Linked DNA regions of Homo sapiens: all the other regions are linked to region 1. Evidence: promoter capture Hi-C in 16 types of primary human blood cells and fetal thymus (Javierre and others, 2016). All regions are on one chromosome and are shown on one strand. The core of a region is centred on a gene start or on the middle of the fragment in contact, and the rest is flanking DNA. Distances in the headings are between cores, read along the strand shown. Region 1 holds the start of COA6 (cytochrome c oxidase assembly factor 6). Region 2 holds the start of TBCE (tubulin folding cofactor E). Region 3 overlaps GGPS1 (geranylgeranyl diphosphate synthase 1). Region 4 overlaps ARID4B (AT-rich interaction domain 4B). Region 5 overlaps ARID4B (AT-rich interaction domain 4B). Region 6 has its middle 2.0 kb from the start of RBM34. Region 7 has its middle 25 kb from the start of SNORA14B.

Evidence for each region. Contacts are between HindIII fragments. The CHiCAGO score rates a contact against its expected background, and 5 or more counts as called.
Region 2: the fragment with the promoter of TBCE here is called in contact with the fragment with the promoter of COA6 in region 1 in 4 of 17 cell types (neutrophils, total B cells, M2 macrophages and 1 more); the score reaches 8.6 in neutrophils.
Region 3: a fragment that was not itself captured here is called in contact with the fragment with the promoter of COA6 in region 1 in 1 of 17 cell types (neutrophils); the score reaches 5.3 in neutrophils.
Region 4: a fragment that was not itself captured here is called in contact with the fragment with the promoter of COA6 in region 1 in 1 of 17 cell types (neutrophils); the score reaches 6.7 in neutrophils.
Region 5: a fragment that was not itself captured here is called in contact with the fragment with the promoter of COA6 in region 1 in 1 of 17 cell types (activated CD4 T cells); the score reaches 5.4 in activated CD4 T cells.
Region 6: a fragment that was not itself captured here is called in contact with the fragment with the promoter of COA6 in region 1 in 2 of 17 cell types (erythroblasts and total B cells); the score reaches 6.6 in erythroblasts.
Region 7: a fragment that was not itself captured here is called in contact with the fragment with the promoter of COA6 in region 1 in 1 of 17 cell types (neutrophils); the score reaches 5.5 in neutrophils.

The regions. Positions count from the first base shown.
Region 1 is chr1:234,371,551-234,374,705 of GRCh38, reverse strand. COA6 (cytochrome c oxidase assembly factor 6) reads right to left here and starts at 1,250. Exons shown (of 3, transcript NM_001206641.3): 1 at 1,028-1,250; 2 at 317-476. The coding sequence starts at 1,239. COA6-AS1 (COA6 antisense RNA 1) reads left to right here and starts at 1,113. Exons shown (of 2, transcript NR_125961.1): 1 at 1,113-1,283; 2 at 1,496-1,899. RefSeq lists enhancers at 867-1,416, 1,238-2,062. The HindIII fragment of the contact is 9,162 bases long and covers 1-3,155 here.
Region 2 is chr1:235,365,954-235,369,108 of GRCh38, reverse strand. TBCE (tubulin folding cofactor E) reads right to left here and starts at 1,682. Exons shown (of 17, transcript NM_003193.5): 1 at 1,605-1,682. It overlaps LOC124904559 (a long non-coding RNA gene), which reads left to right and starts at 1,689. Exons shown (of 2, transcript XR_007066957.1): 1 at 1,689-1,899; 2 at 2,486-2,756. RefSeq lists enhancers at 1,383-1,722, 1,262-1,975. The HindIII fragment of the contact is 3,498 bases long and covers 1,671-3,155 here.
Region 3 is chr1:235,336,827-235,339,981 of GRCh38, reverse strand. The region is part of intron 2 of GGPS1 (geranylgeranyl diphosphate synthase 1); the gene reads right to left. Among named protein-coding and RNA genes, the nearest start is that of GGPS1, 9.8 kb to the right of the region's middle. The HindIII fragment of the contact is 7,848 bases long and covers 1-3,155 here.
Region 4 is chr1:235,307,748-235,310,902 of GRCh38, reverse strand. The region is part of intron 2 of ARID4B (AT-rich interaction domain 4B); the gene reads left to right. Among named protein-coding and RNA genes, the nearest start is that of ARID4B, 19 kb to the left of the region's middle. The HindIII fragment of the contact is 3,231 bases long and covers 1-3,110 here.
Region 5 is chr1:235,224,061-235,227,215 of GRCh38, reverse strand. It overlaps ARID4B (AT-rich interaction domain 4B), which reads left to right. Exons shown (of 24, transcript NM_016374.6): 12 at 2,441-2,513. Among named protein-coding and RNA genes, the nearest start is that of MIR4753, 36 kb to the right of the region's middle. The HindIII fragment of the contact is 824 bases long and covers 1,116-1,939 here.
Region 6 is chr1:235,161,693-235,164,847 of GRCh38, reverse strand. No RefSeq gene overlaps it. Among named protein-coding and RNA genes, the nearest start is that of RBM34, 2.0 kb to the right of the region's middle. RefSeq lists an enhancer at 3,145-3,155. The HindIII fragment of the contact is 183 bases long and covers 1,499-1,681 here.
Region 7 is chr1:235,101,851-235,105,005 of GRCh38, reverse strand. No RefSeq gene overlaps it. Among named protein-coding and RNA genes, the nearest start is that of SNORA14B, 25 kb to the left of the region's middle. RefSeq lists a silencer at 557-726. The HindIII fragment of the contact is 9,082 bases long and covers 1-3,155 here.

The sequences.
Region 1 (3,155 bases), core at 1-2,500:
CTGCCCAAGATTAAATACTACCCCTTCAGAAGATCCTGGAAAAGTCTACCAGTGAAATGAACTGGAATTTTTTGGTTACTGTTCATATGTTTGTTGTGTTTTTCGATGCTCTTTAATGTGTCAGTTGACATTCTCCAAAGATCTAGCTGATGTAAGTGCGTCAAATAAGGCTGAATTACCAGGCAAGGTTTTCTCTGCGCCTCAAAGAAACTGTTAATTGACATGCCTCAGAGAGCGCTTCATGTCAGCCTACCACTCACAGTATAAGCTCGATGTATCTTAACAGGGAAGAGAAACACATCAAAGTGTGACTTACCCACTGTTGGGGACAACTTGATTCGAAAGAGCTTCTTAACTTCTTGCATTGAGAAGCATCCTCTAAGTTCTCATCTAAACACTTCCAGTACTCATCCCGGGCCCCCCAGCAGACCTGTCTTTCCTTCATAGATGGGGCTGCCATTCCTACTGCGATGAAGCTGTTGGCCAAAATAATATTTGAGATTAACAATGAACTTTGTAATCTGAAGAGAAGATAAGGAAAGAGGAAAACCGTCAATCTCCTCTTCCTTTAAAACTAAAAAAAAAAAAAAAAACAAAAACAAAACAAAACCATGCTTAGGGATTTTGATGAGGCAACTGAACCCAATCAGTTCTCAGTGGCAGCATAAGGCCACCCGCTCTTGAGGCTTATCTCACACTGTGTGATTTGATCCCTGCTGGGGCGGCAGCGTGGGCTCAGAAAGCCCGGCTGAGAACTGTGGTTCTGTCCCAGTCGCTTAGGGCAGCTCATTTATTCTCTCCGAGCCCGTTTCCCACCAGTAAAGCGGGGACAGCAGTGCCTAGTTTACAGGGTTACTGTTCGAACCTAAGCGCTGTAGAAACAGGTGTGTGGGGGCCACAATCACCAAGCAGGCGATTGGAGTGCCACCCCGTTTTGCACAAGAGGAACCCGCGGCTCGGGGACAGTAAGGGACCTCCCGGGCCCATAGTCCACGCGCGCCCCACCCGGACCCATCAGCAAGCCGACCTCTCTGCCCGCCCACGTCCGGCTTCCTTTCGATGTCGACGGGAGGAAACTGTCACGCAGGCCACCAACCGGCGGTGGAGGGCGCGGTGCCGAGTCCTGCCACTGCAGGGTCGCCCCGCTGGCTCAAGCTCTAGAAGCGTAGACCTCCCCAGCCGCAAAAAGCAACTCACGCGGCGAAACCGCGGACTCTTTTGACCCTTCCGAGCTACCATTTACTTTCCATAGAGGGGCGGGACTTCCTGTTTCGCTTTTATCTGTAAGACCGACTTCCGGCCTTCAAGGGCAAGAGGGGTATATACGTATATATCATCGCACGGTGTGTCCCGGAAGGCTTGATATGCTAGTCCCGCGGGACAAGGCGAGCCGAGGAGTTTGTGTGGAAGTTTGCATCTGAGAGTGCGAGAGCTGGACGGAGTGTTACAGAGCCGCGATGCCTTCTCGTTTTGTTTTGTTTTGTTTTTGATACAGTGTCTCGCTCTTCCGCCCAGTCTCGAGTGCAGTGGTGAGAACACGGCTTACTGCAGCCTCAAAATCCTGGACCCAAAAGATCCTCCCACCTCAGCCTGCCTCCCAGGTAGCTGGGACTACAGGCGCACAACACCATCGCTTCTTGGATTAAAAGAAAAGGATGAAACGGGCCCCAGAAAGAGGCGGTGACGTCCCAGAACCCATGGCAGGGGAGTTGGGAAAATAAATATTTGTATTGTTTTAATCTCCCTTGTGGCTTTTTTTAACCCCCGAAACAGCAAGGTATTTTTAAAAGGGATGAAGAGAGTTGCTTCAAATGTTTTGAGACGTTGTTATTTTTAATATGTGAGTGAATATCTTAGAAACAAAATGAACAAGAAATAAAAATTTTAGAAAATATATGAGTTAATCTCTCAGCAGAGTCTTTATTAAAAAGCATGTTTATGGTCAGTCATCTGGCACCCCGTTCTCTTAATAGATCCCATCTGCTCCATCATCTAGTTCTAAAACATTTATATAAGATGCAATTTACAATTTTGCACTCAGTGCAGTTTGATCCATTCCAAATTCAATATATGCAGACTTTTCCGGGTGGCGATGTGAGGCTACGTACCACCAAATATGTGTTCTGCAATATAGAAAGTATTTCCCCCATAGTTAATGCACTCTCATAGTGGAGTTACTTTAGCTTTACCAGAGCCACCCCCTTCTTTTACATCATGTCTATTGACGTCAGTTTACATATAGATATCTTTTAAATATGACTGATGGGATATAAAAGGAATGAAAGGAAAGAGTCTTAGATGACTTCTGAGTCTAAAAAGGAAATGTGTTTTAAATTTAAAATTTATAAGTACCTAATGAAAAATACATATGAAACAAAGTGAAGTGACAGAATTACAAAGAAAAAAAATGCCTGGTCATATTGGGTAATTTTAACAGGACTTTCTCACTAATCGTTAAGACTAGCAAGAGAAAAGTTAAGGATATAGGAAACGTGAATAACATGATGTAAAAATGACGCAATTAATATGTACAGAACAACACGACCAAAATCAGAATGTACAGTTTTTTGAAAGCAGACACATCACCACAGTCAACCACATACTTAGTTATAAAGCAACTCAAGAAATTTTGAAAATTGAAATAATTGTCATTTTTTACTACAGTGCATTTAAGATAGAAATCAATAAAGAACTGTAAAAACAAGCCTGAATAACACAGAGACAGAGTCAATGGTATTGAGAAAATATTTTGAACTGAACCATAAAATAACAATAGCAACACCTGTGGGATGAAACTGAAGCAGCACTTACAGGGACATTTATAGCCATAAGTAAGTGTATTAGAAGAGTCTGAAAAGTCTTGAGCTGAAAATCCCTTTTCAAGAAGTTAGAAAAAGGACAGCAAAATAAGACAGAAAATAGAAGGACAGAAATAATGTTAAGAGCAGAAATTAACGAAATGGAAAATAAAAGCAGTGGTGTACCAGAGCCAGCCTGTACTGGCATAGGAGAGCCAATTGTGCACACCTCTTGGCAACTCCATGATCAATAACATCAAATAAGTAGCTTGAAGTCACCCACGATGGGACTGTTTACACTATGGAACTCAACAAACAAGCCAGGATTTTGTTTTATGTTTGGAGCCAATTCAAATA
Region 2 (3,155 bases), core at 433-2,932, 990 kb before region 1:
AAGAGGAAAGAGCAGAAACTACTGCAGTAATTCAAGTACGAGACAACGTAACTTGAACAAGTGAAGGTGATAACAAGAGCCTGGGAGTGTGGACAGATTTTAAAGGTGGAGAGTCCATAGGATTTGCTGATATATATGGAAGAGATTAATCAGGGATGATACCAAAGATTTTCATCTAGACAAATATTTCAGTAGTGACAATGAATGTAAATCCAATAAACCTGCTAGTCAAAAGGCAGACTGGGCTGGGCACGGTGGCTCACACCTGTAGCCCCAGCACTTTGGGAGGCTGAAGCAGGTGGATCACCTGAAGTCAGGCCTTCAAAACCAGTCTGGCCAACATGGCGAAACCCCATCTCTACTACAAATACAAAAAAAAAAAAATTAGCTGGGCATGGTGGCACACACCTGTCATCCCAACTACTCGGGAGGCTGAGGTGGGAGATATGCTTGAACCTGGGAGGCGTGGTTGCAGTGAGCTGAGATTGGGCCACTGCACACCAGCCTTGGGCGACAGAGCAAGACTCCATATCAAAAAAAAAAAAAAAAAAAAAAAGCAGGCTGTCCACTTAGATTAAAAAAAAAACCCAGAGATATGCTGTTTACAACAGTATATAAAATATGAGCATACAGAAAAGTTAAAACTTAAGAATATGAAAAACGTTTGAAGCAAGTATCAAAACACAGCGGCCGTGGCTAAATTAATGCCAGAGAAAAGAAAAGTCTTCTCTCTTCATCTCTACCTCCACTAACTTTCTCTAACAGTTTGGCAATTTGTTAACCCCGTCTTCCTGCCAGGACTGCTTCTCTGAGGATAAGGCTGTCACACCATCATTTGGATCCACCCACAACTTAGAACAGTCCCCATTTGGTAGTAAACACCAAGTAAAAATAGTTACTTTAGGCCGGGCGCGGTGGCTCACGCCTGTAATCCCAGCAGTTTGGGAGGCCGAGGCGGGTGGATCATCTGAGATCAGGAGTTCGAGAGCAGCCTGGCCAACATGGAGAAACCCTGTCTCTACTAAAAATACAAAAATTAGCCGAGCGTGGTGGCACGCGCCTGTAATCCCAGCTACTCGGGAGGCTGAGGCAGCAGAATCGCTTGAACCCAGGAGGCGGAGGTTGCAGTAAGCCGAGATCAGAGATCCGCGCCACTGCAGTCCAGCCTGGGCGACAGAGCAAGACTGTCTCAAAAGAACAAACAGTTACTTTAAGTGCTCTCCACCTATTTAACGTTATTTCTCTGTCATCACCAATGTTAACTGATTCGGAAGGACGAGGCTGTTCCTCTAAGGTGACACCTTGTAAAAGTCGTTGGTCGCCTGTACCATTTTCACCTCTTCCAAAGTGACATGCCAATTCTCTGAGAGAAGCTTAAAATGCTAGAGATCACGTGCGGCTACTCCTAAATAAGGCCTTCCAGGAGGCGCAGGGTGGCCCCAACCCAGCCGGCTGGACCGCCTCCCAGCGCACGGAGCAGGCAACGCCCGGCTCTGGCAATCTGGGAAGATTCCAGGAAAGGAAGAAAAGGCCAAGAGCACTGCAGGGTGACGCACCGGCCAGGAATGCTCGTTCCGAAAGCTCCCCGAACCTCTGAAGCTCACCTGCCCGCGGAGACTCCAGGTGTTCCCAGCAGCAGCCCCTCCAGCCAACTGCCCAGCAGCGAAGCTTGAGGCTCTGGCCGGAAGTGCTGTAGGAAGTCCCGCCTCCACCGGAGTGAGGTACGGCTGCTGGAGCATAGACGAGAATGTCAGCGACAGTATTGGAGGCCAGAGGAGTGGTCAGCCCACCCAAGCCCCGCCTCTGGGCGGGGGCCCAAGCGATTTCCGAGTGCTGAAACCTGGGATGACAGAGCAGCCCAGGGAAAGCGCGTGTTCCAGTTTACTAGATACCACAGAAGTGAGTTACAAATCCTGTAAGAGGTTCAGTTCCATGCGTATTGAGAGTCTACCACGTAGGCAGCATGCGGTGGTCAAAGAGAAGAATATAGTGTTGATACCGCCAAAACTAAAAAAAAAAAAAAAATTACCTAGTTAAAGCATAAGGCAGAATGAAAGTAAATGCAGTGATAGAAAAAATAATAGAAAAAGCAACTATCCTAGACATGTTAATTTCTGTTGAAACCGCCTTTGCAAAATTTTGACAGTAAGAGAAATCTGACATGGTTTACTCCTATCTTGATTCTAGCCTCACAGACTGGCTGTCTTTGCTCATTCCTGGGCACAGGACAAACTAACTTTGGGAGAAATTTAGTTTATAGTTTAAATGATAATAACCCTTCCCCAAAACTGCCCTTTTAAAACTAAATGAAAGGCCACCAAGTTAGGAGAATGAGAGGGTCCTGAATTCTTCTAAGTTGTAATTGTAGTTAAATGATTACCACCCATTATTCCACAGGTCACAAATTCGCATCTTCCCCAATCATTCCTGCAGATAACATCACTGTTGTAGAACCTAAGATTGGCCTTTTGAGATGTCTTTTCAGGTTTTTGCATTTCTGACAAGTGGATGGCCCCACCCTGACTCATCAACCTGGGGATCCACGAACCAACTCAGTGCAAGAGGACAGCTTCTACTTCTTATGATTTCACCTCTGACCCAACCAGTCAGCACTCCCCATTCCCTGGCCCCGTACCTGTCAAACTATCTGAAAAACCCCCTAACCTCTGAGCCTTTGGTGAGATGGATTTGAGTAACAACTCTGTCTCCCACGTGGCATGGCCAGCCTCGCGTCAATTAAACTTTCTTTACTGCAATGCCATGGTTTCTGTCAATTAATTTTGTTTGTGCAGCAGGCAGAAAGAACCCATTGGTGGATACCACAGACTCCACAACAAGAGCAGTTTGGGTAGAGTGAGTGTTAGCATTCCAAAACCAGACTGAAGTGAGGTGAAGTGGAAAGGAAATTGAGGGAGCAAAGCCAAATGACTCTTCCAAGAAGTGACCTTCTAATTGTCATATTAAATGGACACAAACAGTCAGTATCCTGCTGGATGTCTCTACTGTTTTATACTTTGATAGTTCACTCCTTGAAACTAGAAACTAGATATTACAGTGATTGTTTTTTCTTTGGAAGAGGGGATTAAAAACCACATTGGAAATCTGATAAAAGCTATCTACCTACACACAAATTTTGCGTATGATTTCAAGGACTG
Region 3 (3,155 bases), core at 450-2,949, 960 kb before region 1:
TTAAGATAGGTCTTTGGATAGAAGTTACCACTAGAAGTCATTGTAGTCACATACAAAGGAATGATAGATAAAAACCATGGCCAGTTCACTTAGTAAAAATGTTCTATAAGTTTTCTGCTAAATGAATGCATGGTAATAACATCCTAATTTTAGATAAGGTTTCAGGAAAATGGTTACATAAAAAGTTAAAACTAAAATACTGTTTTCTTTTTTTTTTTTTGGAGATGGAATTTCGCTCTTGTCACCCAGGCTAGAGTGCAATGGTGTGATCTCGGCTCACTGCAACCTCCGCCCCCTGGGTTCAAGCGATTCTCCTGCCTCAGCCTCCCAAGTAGCTGGGATTACAGGCACCTGCCACCACACCTGGCTAATTTTTGTAATTTTAGTAGAGACAGGGTTTCACTATGTTGGCCAGGCTGGTGTCAAACTCCTGACCTCAGGTAATTCACCTGTGTTGGCCTCCCAAAATGCTGGGATTATGGGTTTTTTTGTTTGTTTGTTTGTTTGTGGAGATGAAGTTTTGCTCTGTCACCTAGGCTGGAAAGCAATGGCACGATCTTGGCTCGGCTCACCACAACCTTCGCCTCCTGGGTTCAAGGGATTCTCCTGTCTCAGCCTCCCGAGTAGCTGGGATTACAGGTGTGCGTCACTACGCCTAGCTAATTTTTTGTATTTTTTTTCTGAGATCGAGTTTTGCTCTTGTTGCCCAGGCTGGGGTACAGTGTCACGATCTTGGCTCACTGCAACCTCCACCTCCTAGGTTCAAGCGATTCTCCTGCCTCAGCCTCCTGAGTAGCTGGGATTACAGTCGTGCGCCACTAAATCCAGCTAATTTTTTGTATTTTTAGTAGAGACGGTTTCATCATGTTGGCCAGGCTGGTCTTGAATTCCTGACCTCAGGTGATCCACCCACCTCAGCCTCCCAAAGTGTAGGGATTACATGCGTGAGCTACCGCGCCCGGCCAATTTTTTGTACTTTTAATAGAGACAGGGTTTCCCCATGTTGGCCAGGCTGGTCTCGAACTCCTGACCTCAAGTCGTCCACATGCTTTGGCCTCTCGAAGTGCTGGGATTACAGGTGTGACCCACCACGCCCGGCCTATTATTATTATTTTTGAGACAGGGTCTCGCTCTGTCACCCAGGCTGGAGTGCAGTGGCACAATCACGGCCTACTGCAGCCTTGACCTCCTAGGCTCAAGTCCCCTGAGTAGCTGGGACTACAAGAACAAGCCACCATGCCTGGCTAATTTTATTTTTATTTATTTATTTTTTGTAGAGGCAGGGTTTCGCCCTGTTGCCCAGGCTGGTCTCAAACCCCTGGGCTCAAAAGCAATCTGTCCCACTTGGCCTCCCAAAGTGCTGGGATAATAAGTCAGCCACTGCACTTGGCCTGTATCACTTAAACACATTTTTTTGAAGATGAAAAACAGAGTCTCAATGTGAAATTTCATTTTTCATTTTACTTTTGAATGTTATATAGAAAACAGTACAATATATGGCTTATTTTTGAGGTACTACAGTTTTAATATTTTTTTCCCCTCTGATGACATGCTAGTGTTTAGCCTGATGCTTTTAAGTTTCCCCCCCTTTTTTTTTTCTGAGACGGGGTCTCCCTTAATCACCCAGGCTGGGGTGCAGTGGTGTGATCTTGGCTTACTGCAGCCTCAACCTCCCAGGCTCCGGTAATCATCCCACCTCAGTCCCCCAGGTAAGCTGGGACTACAAGGGCGTATCACATGCCTGGCTAATTTTTTGTATTTTTAGTAGAGACAGGGTTTTGCCATGTTGCCCAGGCTGGTCTTGAACTCCTGGGCTTAAGCCATCTGCCCACTTCGGTCTCCCAAAGTGCTGGGAGTACAGATGTGAGCCACCGCGCCTGGCTGAGTTCCAAAATAATTTCTAGTACTGAGGCTAATCACAGAGATCTCTCAAAATTAAAAGATTACTGCTTCCTCTTTAAGATCTAAACATTATTGTCTCTCTTTTTGGAGCCCTTCTTCCTCCACTGCCAGCTTCATCTCTCCCTAATCCCACCCTTCACCTCATCTAGGGCCCCACACTAAGGCAAATAAACAAACATAAACATAAGATGACAGCAAGTATGAGAAATTTAAAAATAAAAATAATTTTCTTTACTAATTTCAGAAAATCCTTTTTTTTTTTTGAGACAGTGTCTCACTCTGTTGCCCAGGCTGGAGTGCAGTGGCGTGATCTCGGCTCACTGCAACCTCTGCCTCCTAGGCTCCTGTGACTCCCGTGCCTCAGCTGGGACTACAGGCATGCGCTACCATACTTGGCTAATATTTGTATTTTTAGTAGATACAGGGTTTCACCATGTTGGCCAGGTTGACTTCAGAAAATACTGATAGCATTATTATTATTTATTAGCAAGAGTAATATTACAACAGTATAAATGACCTGGCACACCTCTAAGTTACTTTAGTAACTCTGAAGCTCTCTGTAAAAAAATAAGTGTGTTATGTGCATAGTGCAATGTCATATTTCTTTAGTAGTATCTTTTGAGGTTGTATTCCATCATGGATCAAGAACGTACTTGAATAAAAAGGTGAGGTACCTAGTGATAATTTTAAATATGTTATCTAATGTCTTAAAACATTATTTCCAAGTAATGAGAATTAAAAAAAAGGAAGTCACAGAAGGTGGTCACAGCATAAGTAAGCATTATGGTTAAAATGTAACTGTAGGCAGTCCTTGCTTTGTAAGTAGCAGAGTAAGAGACATTCAAGCGATGCTTGTTAGACTTTTGTCAGCACTGATAACTGGCTTGCTATTAATGCCAGCCCAGTTCCAGCTAGTGTTTGTGAGCGTGTTCTAAAGGATGTCTGGCAGTAAGAGCTGGGTAGAGTGAAAGTGAAACTGTGCCATGTTTCTCACTGGGAGATACTGAAATAAGTTACTAACTGCTGGATAAATGTCACTCAAAAGCAGTCTCTTGGCTTTTTCTTAAACAGTGGGCAACCTTCCCTTTGAATTCTCCATTTCTGTCATTCCCTCATTCTTCTCATGCATTGACATTAGCAGGCGAGTCTCTATTAGGGTCGGCCAAAATAAAAATGACACTAATTATGGTTTCCAAGGTGTAGCACAGGAGCAAGCATTCTTTTGGCTTTTATCCTTCCCAGGCTCATGAAGA
Region 4 (3,155 bases), core at 246-2,745, 940 kb before region 1:
ACCCAGGAGTTTGAGACCAGCATGGACAATGTGGCAAAACCCTGCTTCTACAAAAAAGTTTTAAAATAGCCAGGAGTGGTGGCCTGTGACTGTATTTCCAGCTACTCAGGAAGTTGAGGCTGGGAGGATTGCTTGAACCCAGGATGTCAAGTCTGCAGTGGAGCTGTGATTGCAGCCACTGTACTCCAGCCTAGGTGACAGAGCAAGACCCCGTTTTAAAAACAAAATCAAAAACACGTTAATTTTGGAATGGATCTCTATAGGAAGTGTCCCCAGCATATGCTCAAAGTCAGAATATATAGTTTATAAGGAATTCTTTAACCGTACAGTTATATGGCACATTACGTTTTTAAAGTTCCATAATCATTAGTTATATCTAATAACATCCCTTTGAGGCAGGTCAGCAACATTTTTCCCTTTTTATGGTCGAAGAAGCAGGTGTAAAGATGTTGAGTGATTTGCCCACAGGCACACATTAAACTGATCACAGAGCCTGTTCTTTTGTTAGTAAACTGAACCATGCTGCCTCTCTACTAGTTATTATAAATAAATAATAAAGTTGTTGCCATTTAGTGACTTTTTGATGGCTTTATTGAATAGTAAGTGTAGTTTACAAACCTTTTGCCTACTTACTTTGTTGAAAAAGTTTTAAATTTAGAATTTACTTGTATCATGGTATGAAACATTTTTATGTAAATTTCCCTGTTTCTTTTTTTTTATTTTTTTTTATTGATCATTCTTGGGTGTTTCTCACAGAGGGGGATTTGGCAGGGTCATAGGACAATAGTGGAGGGAAGGTCAGCAGATAAACAAGTGAACAAAGGTCTCTGGTTTTCCTAGGCAGAGGACCCTGTGGCCTTCCGCAGTGTTTGTGTCCCTGGGTACTTGAGATTAGGGAGTGGTGATGACTCTTAAGGAGCATGCTGCCTTCAAGCATCTGTTTAACAAAGCACATCTTGCACCTCCCTTAATCCATTTAACCCTGAGTGGACACAGCACATGTTTCAGAGAGCACAGGGTTGGGGGTAAGTAAGGTCACAGATCAACAGGATCCCAAGGCCGAAGAATTTTTCTTAGTACAGAACAAAAGGAAAAGTCTCCCATGTCTACTTCTTTCTACACAGACACGGCAACCATCTGATTTCTCAATCTTTTCCCCACCTTTCCCCCCTTTCTATTCCACAAAACCGCCATTGTCATCATGGCCCGTTCTCAATGAGCTGTTGGGTACACCTCCCAGACGGGGTGGCGGCCGGGCAGAGGGGCTCCTCACTTCCCAGTAGGGGTGGCCGGGCAGAGGCGCCCCTCACCTCCCGGACGGGGCGGCTGACCGGGCGGGGGGCTGACCCCCCCACCTCCCTCCCGGACGGGGCGGCTGGCCGGGCAGAGGGGCTCCTCACTTTCCAGTAGGGGCGGCCGGGCAGAGGCGCCCCTTACCTCCCGGATGGGGCGGCTGGCCGGGCGGGGGGCTGACCCCCCCACCTCCCTCCCGGACGGGTGGCTGCCGGGCAGAGACGCTCCTCACTTCCCAGACGGGGTGGTTGCCGGGCGGAGGGGCTCCTCACTTCTCAGATGGGGCGGCTGCCGGGCGGAGGGGCTCCTCACTTCTCAGATGGGGCGGCTGCCGGGCGGAGGGGCTCCTCACTTCTCAGATGGGGCGGTTGCCAGGTGGAGGGTCTCCCCACTTCTCAGACGGGGCGGCCGGGCAGAGACGCTCCTCACCTCCCAGACGGGGTCACGGCCGGGCAGAGGCGCTCCTCACATCCCAGACGGGGCGGCGGGGCAGAGGTGCTCCCCACATCTCAGACAATGGGCGGCCGGGCAGAGACGCTCCTCACTTCCTAGATGGGATGGCGGCCGGGAAGAGGCGCTCCTCACTTCCTAGATGGGATGGCGGCCGGGCAGAGACGCTCGTCACTTTCCAGACTGGGCAGCCAGGCAGAGGGGCTCCTCACGTCCCAGACGATGGGCGGCCAGGCAGAGACGCTCCTCACTTCCCAGATGGGGTGGCAGCCGGGCAGAGGCTGCACTCTCGGCACTTTGGGAGGCCAAGGCAGGTGGCTGGGAGGTGGAGGTTGTAGCGAGCCGAGATCACGCCACTGCACTCCAGCCTGGGCACCATTGAGCACTGAGTGAACCAGACTCCGTCTGCAATCCCGGCACCTCGGGAGGCTGAGGCTGGCGGATCACTCGCGGTTAGGAGCTGGAGACCAGCCCGGCCAACACAGCGAAGCCCCGTCTCCACCAAAAAAATACAAAAACCAGTCAGGCGTGGCAGCGCGCACCTGCAATCGCGGGCACTCGGCAGGCTGAGGCAGGAGAATCAGGCAGGGAGGTTGCAGTGAGCTGAGATGGCAGCAGTACAGTCCAGCTTCGGCTCGGCATCAGAGGGAGACCGTGGAAAGAGAGGGAGAGGGAGACCGTGGGGAGAGGGATAGGGAGAGGGAGGGGGAGGGGGAGGGGGAGCCCCTGTTTCTTAAAAATTAGAAAAAATCAGGCTGGGAGCGGTGGCTCATGCCTGTAATCCCAGCACTTTGGGAGGCCAAGGTGGGCGAATCACTTGAAGTCAGGAGGAGTTCATGACCAGCCTGGCCAACACAGCGAAACCCTGTCTCTACTAAAAATACAATACAAAAATTAGCTGTGCATGGTAGCATGTGCTTCTGGTCCCAGCTACTCAGGCGCTGAGACAGGAGAAGTGCCTGAACCTGGGAGGCGGAGGTTGCAGTGAGCTGAGATCAGGTCACTGCACTCTAGCCTGGGCGACAGAGCAAGATGCAAGACTCTGTCCCCCTCCAAAAAAAAAAAAAAAAAAAAAATTAGAAGAAATCATATGAAAAAACATAAAAATGAACGACAGTGGACTTAGTTCTTCTGGGAGAACTTTGCTAGCTTGAAAATTAGTGTCAAGCTGGACAGGTGGCTTGTGCCTGTAATTCCAGCTACTTGGGAGGCTGAGACAGGAGGAGCTTGAGCCCAGGAGCTCAAGGCTGCAGTGAGCCTTGATTGCACCACTAGATTCCAGCCTGGGCGACAGAGCGAGACTCTATCTCTAAAAGAAAGGAAAATTAGTATTATAAATTAGAAAATTAGAGGCTTTGTACAAAGCTTTGAAGAGTTAATATTTTAAAGTAGGAGAAAAATGAATCCTCTGG
Region 5 (3,155 bases), core at 278-2,777, 850 kb before region 1:
CCCCTTGAACTTTATGCTATAGCAATGTCAAATTACATATGTTGCTGCTACTCACCTTTGCATATGCTAGTACCTCTGTAGGCACCACCTTTTCCTCCCCTCCTTCCTTAGTCAGCATGGTACATTCCTGTTCAATTTTCAGAACCCTACTTAGGTGCCATCTCTCTAAAGAGAAACCTGTGAACCATCACCTCCCTCACCTCAGGAAAGCACCAGTTCATTTGCTAGTCTAAACTACTACTGCTCCTGGCAGGCACGGTGGGTCATGCCTGTAATCCCAGCACTTTGGGAAGCTGACGCTAGCGGATCACCTGAGGTCAGGAGTTTGAGACCAGTCTGGCCAACATGGTGAAACCCCGTCTGTACTAAAAATACAAAAATTAGCTGGGTGTGGCTGGGCGCGGTGGCTCACGCCTGTAATCCCAGCACTTTGGGAGGCCAAGGCAGGCAGATCACCTGAGGTCAGGAGATCGAGACCATCCTGGCTAACATGGTGAAACCCTGTCTCTACTAAAAACACCAAAAAATTAGCCGGGCATGGTGGTGGACGCCTGTAGTCCCAGCTACTCAGGAGGCTGAGGCAGGAGAATGGTGTCAACCCGGGAGGCGGAGCTTGCAGTGAGCCGAGATCACGCCACTGCACTCCAGCCTGGGTGACAGAGCCAGACTCCATCTAAAAAAAAAAAAATTAGCTGGGCGTGGTGGCAGGTGCCTGTTATCCCAGCTACTAGGGAGGCTGAGGCAGCAGGATTGCTTGAACCCAGGAAGCGGAGGTTGCAGTGAGCCGAGATGACACCACTGCACTCCAGCCTGGGCGACAGAGCAAGACTCTGTCTCAAAAACAAGACAAAACAAAAAAAGAATTACTACTGCTCCTTATACATATTTTTGTCATTTATATTTATTGTCTATTTTTTCTTCCCCACGAATTTGTAAGTTCCTTAAAGTTAGGAATGCTGTCTTACTCGTATTCATACTTAAAGTGTCTGTCATAGTGTGTAAAATATAACAGATGATAAATAGCTACCAAACCTTTTGGTGCTTAGTGTTTTCACAAGTGTTTTTGTAAAAGCAAATCTGTAGTGTAGTGTAAACATTTTCTTGAGTTAAAAGCTTACCTTAAATGTTTTTGGAATAGGAAAAATTGTGCTGTTTATTAAAGTTAAATATTGTACCATGGGAACATTTAAGATAACATCTAGAAAATAGATGTCCTTAGATTTGTATTTGATCACCTTACCAAAACCTGAATGTATGGAGTGTGTTTAAATTGAGAAATACAGATTCATCATTAGCAAATTAATGGTTGTCATTTATTTTTCTCTGCCCAATTAGAAAACCTAATAGTTGATCAACATAGGCTTTAAAAAAAAAATTACCTTTCTTTGTTGTACTAGCTTTTAAATTAAAAAGACAATCTCGCTAAAGCAGTGGCATTAGGCACATGATTTTCCAAATTGAAAAATGCTATGTTTTTATTTATTTAGATTACCAGTTGAATATCCTAACTTTTACTGTTACAAATCTGTATATTTAAGCCAGAGTAACTGTAAAGCCTAGCTGTATATTTGGAATCATTTTCTCTGCAGTTACTCCTAATCATGTTCTGTAACAGTAGGCTCCATAGCCTATTTTTTCTTTTATTTGATTCAGCACCTGGCATAGTACCTACACTTACAGGTGCTCAAGTGTTTGTTGAATGGATGAAAGTCATTGAATTGGTGAGTTCCTCAATCTTAACCTACTACCCTGCTCCTTGCAGGTTGCTTCAGGACCAGCTCCCTGCTGCCACAGCCCTTGGCCACAGCAGCAAGAAGCTAGTCCTTCCCTTGTAATTGATAAATTGGGGAACTATTTTATTACTTGAAGATTTCCCTAAGTCTGAATCTTCAGGTATTGTAGATCAAATTTGTTCCCCACTTTACTGATTATGTAAGCTTGAAGTATATACAGTGGGGCTGCATAAAATGAAGGATACTTGCAGTCAGCTAATGGGACCCATACTTTTATAGTACCTTGAGGAGCAATAATAGAATTAGTTTTGATGTTTAACTCTGATCCAGTTTCGCATAAGTTGAGAGTAGGTATTCTTGAACCTGTGATCCTGATTTGAAAAATAGCTCTCTCATATGGTAAAAAAAACAAAACAAAACAAAACAAAACCACGAACAGTCTTGCTAGTCCCTTTTCTCATATGGGAATTTTTACTGTGGGGATTCTAACTATTGGGATACTTTTTAAGGCATATTCCTCTATAAAACATAAAATGTCTAGACTTACCTGGTTTTGAACAGCTTAGTGTTAAAAGAGTAACTTTGATTACGTAAAAAGCCTTTGAAGTATTTTAATGAACACTAGTCTTTGCTATTGGTAAGAAATCTGCTTGTTTTATTAAAATGCTTAATTGAAGAAAATAATATTCTTCTGTGATTAAAATTAGGAAGAAATAGAACCATTTCCAGAAGAAAGGGAGAACTTTCTTCAGCAATTGTACAAATTTATGGAAGATAGAGGTGAGTATTTTTTATTTATCATTAACGTGGTAAGTTTTGGACAGATAATTAGTATCTTAAAAATAAGAATAGAATTTTGTTTACTGAACTTTATGTCATCAGTAATTATGGCTGTCTTTTTGACTCTGATATCACCAGCACCTAGCATAGCGCCTGTCACGTAACAAGTAGAATGAGGAATTTGATAGCATTTTGACAGATATTGTGGCTATGGACACATAAATGCACTTATTACCCTGTCCTGCCAATCCCTTTACCTATCCATGGGTCCCTAAAGAACAGTAGCAAAATGGGAATTAAGCCAGAAATAGATAAAGAAGTGTGACAAAGTCTCAAAAGTGAGCCTTGGCTCAGCTTATTTAATCTGCCAGAAGCTGCTAAGGCCACGGAAGGATTGAAGGAAGAAGAATAACTTAGGGTAATGAACTAATCCTTCCGTAACCTCAACACTGTTATTCTCTAGCTTATCTTCTTGGTCAGAGTCTACTTTCTTCTTTTCTGGGAAGATGCTTGTAAGGGAGTAAGGAGAGGCTTTCTAGCTGGAAGGGAAGGGCAAAATGAATGATTAGTGTTTGGAAACACCACAATACTCTGGGAATTGAACGTTTTCTAAATCCCTGATTGTAATGCTGATGAGTAGAA
Region 6 (3,155 bases), core at 341-2,840, 790 kb before region 1:
GAGGATTTTATTGAATTAGTAGAATTGACCTATGTCTACTTCTGGTCACCTAAACTAGACTTTACTAAGTTAGTTTACAATTGACATATTAAGATGGTATGTTTTTCTTTTCTTTTTTTTCTTTTTTTGAGACGGAGTCTCACTCTGTTGCCCCAGGCTGGAGTGCAGTGGTGCAATCTTGGCTCACTGCAACTTCTGCCTCCCAGGTTCAAGTGATCCTCCTACTTCAGCCTCCCGAGTAGCTGGGACTACAGGCACGTGCCACTGCACCCAGCTAATTTTTTGTATTTTTAGTAGAGAGGGGTGTTTCACCGTGTTAGTCAGGATGGTCTCGATCTCCTGACCTCGTAATCTGCCCGCCTTGACCTCACAAAGTGTTGGGATTACAGGCATGAGCCACCGCGCCCACCCAAGATGATACGTTTCTTAACGGTGTTCTCCAAAACGTTTTTTTTCCTACTGAAAAAACTTTAGAGTGGGGTCTTGTTAATTTCTTTTTTTTGTTTGTTTTGTTTTGTTTTAGACAGAATCTCGCTCTGTCGCCCAGGCTGGAGTATAATGGCGCCATCTTGGCTCACTGCAACCTCTGCCTCCCGGGTTCAAGTGGTTCTCCTGCATCAGCCTCCCGACTAGCTGGGATTACAGGCGCCCGCCACCATGCCTAGCTAATTTTTGTATTTTTAGTAGAGATGGGGTTTCACCATGTTGGCCAGGCTGATCTCAAACTTCTGACCTCAGATGATCCACCCACCTCGGCCTCCCAAAGCGCTGGGATTACAGGCGTAAGCCACCGCACCCGGCCTCCTTTTGTTTTTTTGAGACGGAGTTTCGCTCTTGTTGCCCAGGCTGGAGTGCAAATGGCGCAGTCGCTGATCTGAAACTCCTGGGCTTGCATTCCTTCCGTCTTGGTCTCCCAAAGTGCTGGGATTATAGGCGTGAGCCACCTTGTCCCACCATGTCCTCATATTTTAAAAAACTCTCAAAGCAGTAAGTGATCTCTAAATGGTTAAAAACAGCACTGAACAGCAATGAAGATAATTTTAAAACTATCTGCAACCACAGCTGCTTTCGCAGTCTGTTTTCTTCTATAAGTATCTGCTACCTAGCTGGGCACAGTGGGTCATACCTGTAATCCCAGCACGTTGGGAGGTCAAGGCGAGCGGATCACCTGAGGTCAGGAGTTCGAGACCAGCCCGACCAACATGGAGAAACCCTGTCTCTATTAAAAATATAAAATTAGCCAGGCATGGTGGTGCATGCCTGTAATCCCAACTACTCGGGAGGCTGAGGCAGGAGAATCGCTTGAACCTGGGAGGCGGAGGTTGCAATGAGCCAAGATCGTGCCACTGCACTCCAGCCTGGGCAACAAGAGTGAAACTCCGTCTCAAAAAATACACAGAATAGAATTCTATAATTCTAGAAATATAGAATATAATTTCTTCACTGGACTGGATAGAACAGATTTTTGAGTTGTATCGCATGCATGTATGGATAAGCTTTCTTCATCTTTGTGAAATACCAGAAGATCAAGATTATGGGAAACCAAAATAAGGGGCCCAGTAATCAAAACCCAGGGCCGAGCAGTTGAATATTGTGGATTTTTTTCATAAATTTCTCTGAAGGGGGAAGTAAAAGTCACATATATTCCCAGTCAACTTGGTTGAGTAGCTTTCAAAAAGCTTAGGCTGTCCCCAAAAGACTCAAAGTCAAATCCTGGCTGGATGCAGTGGCTCACGCCTGTAATTCCAACCCTTTGGGAGGCCAAGGCAGGAGGACTGCTCAAGCTCAGGAGTTCAAGACCGGCCTGGGAAACACAGTGAAACCCCAATCTCTATTTAAAAAAAAAAAAAAAAAAAAAGGCCAGGCGCGGTGGCTCACACCTGTACTCCCAGCACTTTGGGAGGCTGAGGTGGGCGGATCACAAGGTCAGGGGTTCGAGACCAGCCTGGCTAACATGGTGAAACCCGGTCTCTACTAAAAAAATACAAAAATTAGCTGGGCATGGTGGCATGCACCTGTAATCCCAGCTACTTGGGAGGCTGAGGCAGGAGACTCACTTGAACCCGGGAGGCGGAGGTTGCAGTGAGCTGAGATCGCGCCACTGCAGTCCAGCCTGGGCGACAGAGCGAGACTCTGTCTCCAAAAAAAAAAAAAAAATTAGCTGGGCATGGTGCTGCTGCTTGCAGTTCCAGCTACTCCGTGGTGGGAGGATGGCTTGAGCCCAGGAAGTCAAGGCTGCAGTGCGCCGTGATCTCACCACTACACTCCAGTCTGGGTGACAGAGCAACACCTTGTCTGAAAGAAAATAAGAACAAAGTCAAATCCTATTTTGCCACTCAAACTATTGGATGATTTAACTAGTAATCTTTTATTACCCTGAGAGTCAATTTAACAAATATTCACTATGTACAGCTAATAGAGACACAGCATACATGATGAATAAAACATAATCCTTACTGTCTTGCCTTTACATCTAAAGAGACTGTAACTAACACTAAAGCAGACCAAAAATGATTATAGTAAGTACCATGGGGGCTTGGGAAAATATCCCTATTGTAAATAGCAAAGAATTTTTTTTTTTTTTTTTTTGAGCCAGGGTCTGCCGCTTAGGCTGGAGTGTAGTGATGCGATCACAGCTTACTGCAGCCTCGACCTTCCAGGGCTCAAGGGATCCTCTTGCCCGAGCCTCTCAAAGTGCTGGGACTACAGGCGCCGAGCGCGAAGGTGCCCGTCTAATTTCTTTTCTGTAGAGAATAAGTCTCGCTAGATCGACCAGGCTGGTTCAAACTCCTAGTCCTCACGCAATCCTCCCACTTCGGCCTCCAAATGTGTTAGGATTACAGGCGAGCCACCGCACCTGGCTGCAAAGAAATACTAAGTTAGACAGTATCTGAGGTAGGCCTTGAAGGATGGACATTATTTTGCAGAAGGGGAAAGAGGAGGGCAATTACAACAGAGGGGACAGGAATAACAACTGTAGAGGCAGTGGAGAAAGCAGGCTAGAATGTCAGGGGCTGGAGGGAGATGAGTCTGGGAAGACGGGCTGAGAACACCTTGAAGCGTTTTGAATGCCAAGTATCTACTTTTCCAGGTAGAATAGCAGGTCCGCATTACAATCTTTCGAATTGTATGTTGACGTGACTCGTTAGAGTTGT
Region 7 (3,155 bases), core at 489-2,988, 730 kb before region 1:
ACACCCTTGAGTTGTCAGCCTCAGACTTCCATTTCTAGCACCTGTAAGCTGGTCAAGTTGTGTGCACTGTAATGTGTCACCATGAAACGAAAGAGAAGTACCAGGTGAGCTCTCTCTCTCTCTGTGTATATACGTGTGTGTGTGTGTGTGTGTGTGTGTGTGTGTGTGTGTGTGTGTGTGTACGCCTTGCCTGAAAATGATTTAAAGCTACTAACCGGGCCCCATGGAAATTCAGTCTCATTGCATAGGGCTCCAGGCAACTGAGTTACTGGACACTACACCAGGTCTTGGGTTTTTTGAGATAAAAAATCAGCAAAGTATGTGTAAAGTAACATTTCTTACAAAAATAGATTTCTCTCTTCTCTCAACATGGCATCAGTTTTTTCAATATATTGGCAAAGTGGATCCATCCACGGTTCTGGGTCCTGGCTGTGCGTCCGATCGCCTTTGTCAGCTGGGGGAAGACTCAGGGTGACTTGAGCCAGGAGGACCGCGGAGTGGACAGCCGGTACCGCGCGCTCCCCTTTCCCTTGTTCTAAACTGGGCTGGAGAAGTTCATAGGATTTGCTCCGTCTGTACCGCGTGCGCTGTGAGCGTTTTCATCAGGGCAGCAGCAGACGCGAAGGAGCGCGCTGGCGCCCTCTGGCGGCGATCCTAGGGTGCGTCCGCGCCGTGCCTACCCCCCGGCCTCCGGGAGCCTCGAGCCCCAGCGCGACTGTGATTCTGCCAATTACAGCGATCATCATAGCGAAATGAAAATGCTCCGATTATTTGTTTATAAATAAAACCGTTCCTCCTGGAAAATGTGCCAGGATGACATTTTGTGAAGTCCTGTTTCCAGTCTTCGTGAATTAAAATTCTAGATGGGAAACTACCAGACAGGAGAAGATAATTGAAAAGGATAGTTGAAAGGACTTCTGACTTGTCCAAGAAGAGACGCAATTCCAGGTTAATCTTCAGAGTGAGTCAAAGCAACGTAAGTATGATCTTTTTCTACGAAAGGCAAAGAATAAAATGTGGCAGAGGGTTTCTACAACTCCTTACCTTCCCAGTTCTGTAGAATCACCCTACAAAAATAGAGGGGCAGCTGTGGGGTGGCGGAACGAACACGGTTTTTAGAAGCAGGGGCTTGGGTTTGAGTTCTAAATGTGCAGCGTACTGGGGCACTTAACTTCTCTGAGGCTTAGGTGCCTCATTTCCAAAGGGCATGAGAATATCTTCTTTTTTTTTTTTTTTCCTTTTTTTGAGACGGAATCTCGCTCTGTCGCCCAGGCTGGAGTGCAGTGGCGCGATCTCGGCTCACTGCAGCCTCCGCCTCCTGGGTTCCAGGGATTCTTGTGTCTCAGCCTCCCAAGTAGTTGGGACTACAGGCACGAGCCACCACGCCCAGCTAATTTTTGTATTTCTAGTAGAGACTGGGTTTCACCTGGGGTGGGGGGAGGGGGGAGGGATAGCATAGGAGATATACCTAATGTAAATGACGAGTTAATGGGTGCAGCACACCAACACGGCACATGTATACATATGTAACAAACCTGCACGTTGTGCACATGTACCCTAGAACTTAAAGTATAATTAAAAAAAAAAAAAAGGCACACCTGAAATGCCAGCTGCTCCTCTGAGACAGGCGGCTCCCTCAGCCAGCTCAGCTGTTCTAGCAAAAAGGCGTTTGATTCTGGGCCAAGCCCAGAATAGGGATTGTCTCCTCATACTATGCCTCTGGCTTCCTGGAGTACAGATTTATGGCTTCTGAATGTGGGAGGAGAAAAAAAAATCCTTAAATCTAAGTCAAAAGCCTGCTAGAACTACTCTCTACAGCTAAACAGAAATGAGCTACAAACTCCTGTCGTGCGGCTTAAATGGAGAAACTTGTGAAGGGATCTGGTTTTGGGTTACTGACATGCTTGAAGGTGCTCATGAGTGGTGGTTTTCCTGTCTTCAAAGTAAATTTTAGGAACAATAAGTTCACTTTGATCATTATCTCTAGGTTATGGGGTTATGGATGGATTTTTTTTTTTTTTTTTTTTGAGATGGAGTCTCACCCTGTCGCCCAGGCTGGAGTGCAGTGGCGTGATCTCAGCTCACTGCAACCTCTGCCTCCCAGGTTCAAGTGATTCTCCTGCCTCAGCCTCCCCAGTAGCTGGGACTACAGGTGCCTGCCACCACGCCTGGCTAATTTTTGTATTTAGTAGAGACGAGGTTTCACCATATTGGCCAGGCTGGTCTCAAACTCCTGACCTCAGGTGATCCGCCCATCTCAGCCTACCAAAGTGCTGGGATTACAGGCATGAGCCACAGCGCCCAGCCAATTTTTGTATTTTTAGGAGAGACGGGGTTTCACCATATTGCCCAGGCTGGTCTCGAATTCCTGACCTTGTGATCTGCCTGCCTTGGCCTCCCAAAGTGCTGGGATTACAGGCATGAACCACTGAGCCCGGCCGGATTTTTCTTACTTATACTTTCCTGTATTTTTTACATATTTGGCCATAACCACGTACCCTTCATAGAGTAAGAGAAAGCAAAGTAAGGTGTTTTGTCCATGCTTATAGACCCAGGCAAACTGAAGCAGAAGGGGACTTTGTTGTTTGACAGCAGGGTGGGCTTCAGGTACAGCTGGATCTGGTTTCTTTCTCTCTCTTCATCCTTCAGGTCTCACCTCTTGATTGGGCTGTAGTTTTGGGCAGATGCTTCCCTCCTGGTCCCAATACAGCTGTGGTAGCTTCAGACTCATGTCCTTCCAATTTCAAGTCTAGTGGCAACAATTTCTATCCTGTGATTCCTGACAAACTGTTCTTTGCGTCTCTTTGGCTCCAGTTGGCTCATAGATCTGCCTAAAATTGAAGCACTGTGGCAAGGCAGCTGGCAGAACTGCTTGACTCACACCCATCTCACATGCGTCACTCCTGAGATGGAGTTGGAACCCTCTGTCCCAAGCACACGGGCTAAGAGTAGGAGAAGGATAGTTTCCTGGAGGGAATTTGGTGTCCAGCTGTCAAAACAGGGGGAATAGATAGGTAGCAAGAAAATCACAAATGCTGTCTTCCTACCTACTTCCAGAAAGGATTTGCAGTAATGCAGGGAGAAGAAAACTGAGGCTAAGGAAAACTGCTGTAATTAACCCAGAGTTTAGCGCTGAGCTTCCTGGTAGCCAAGGC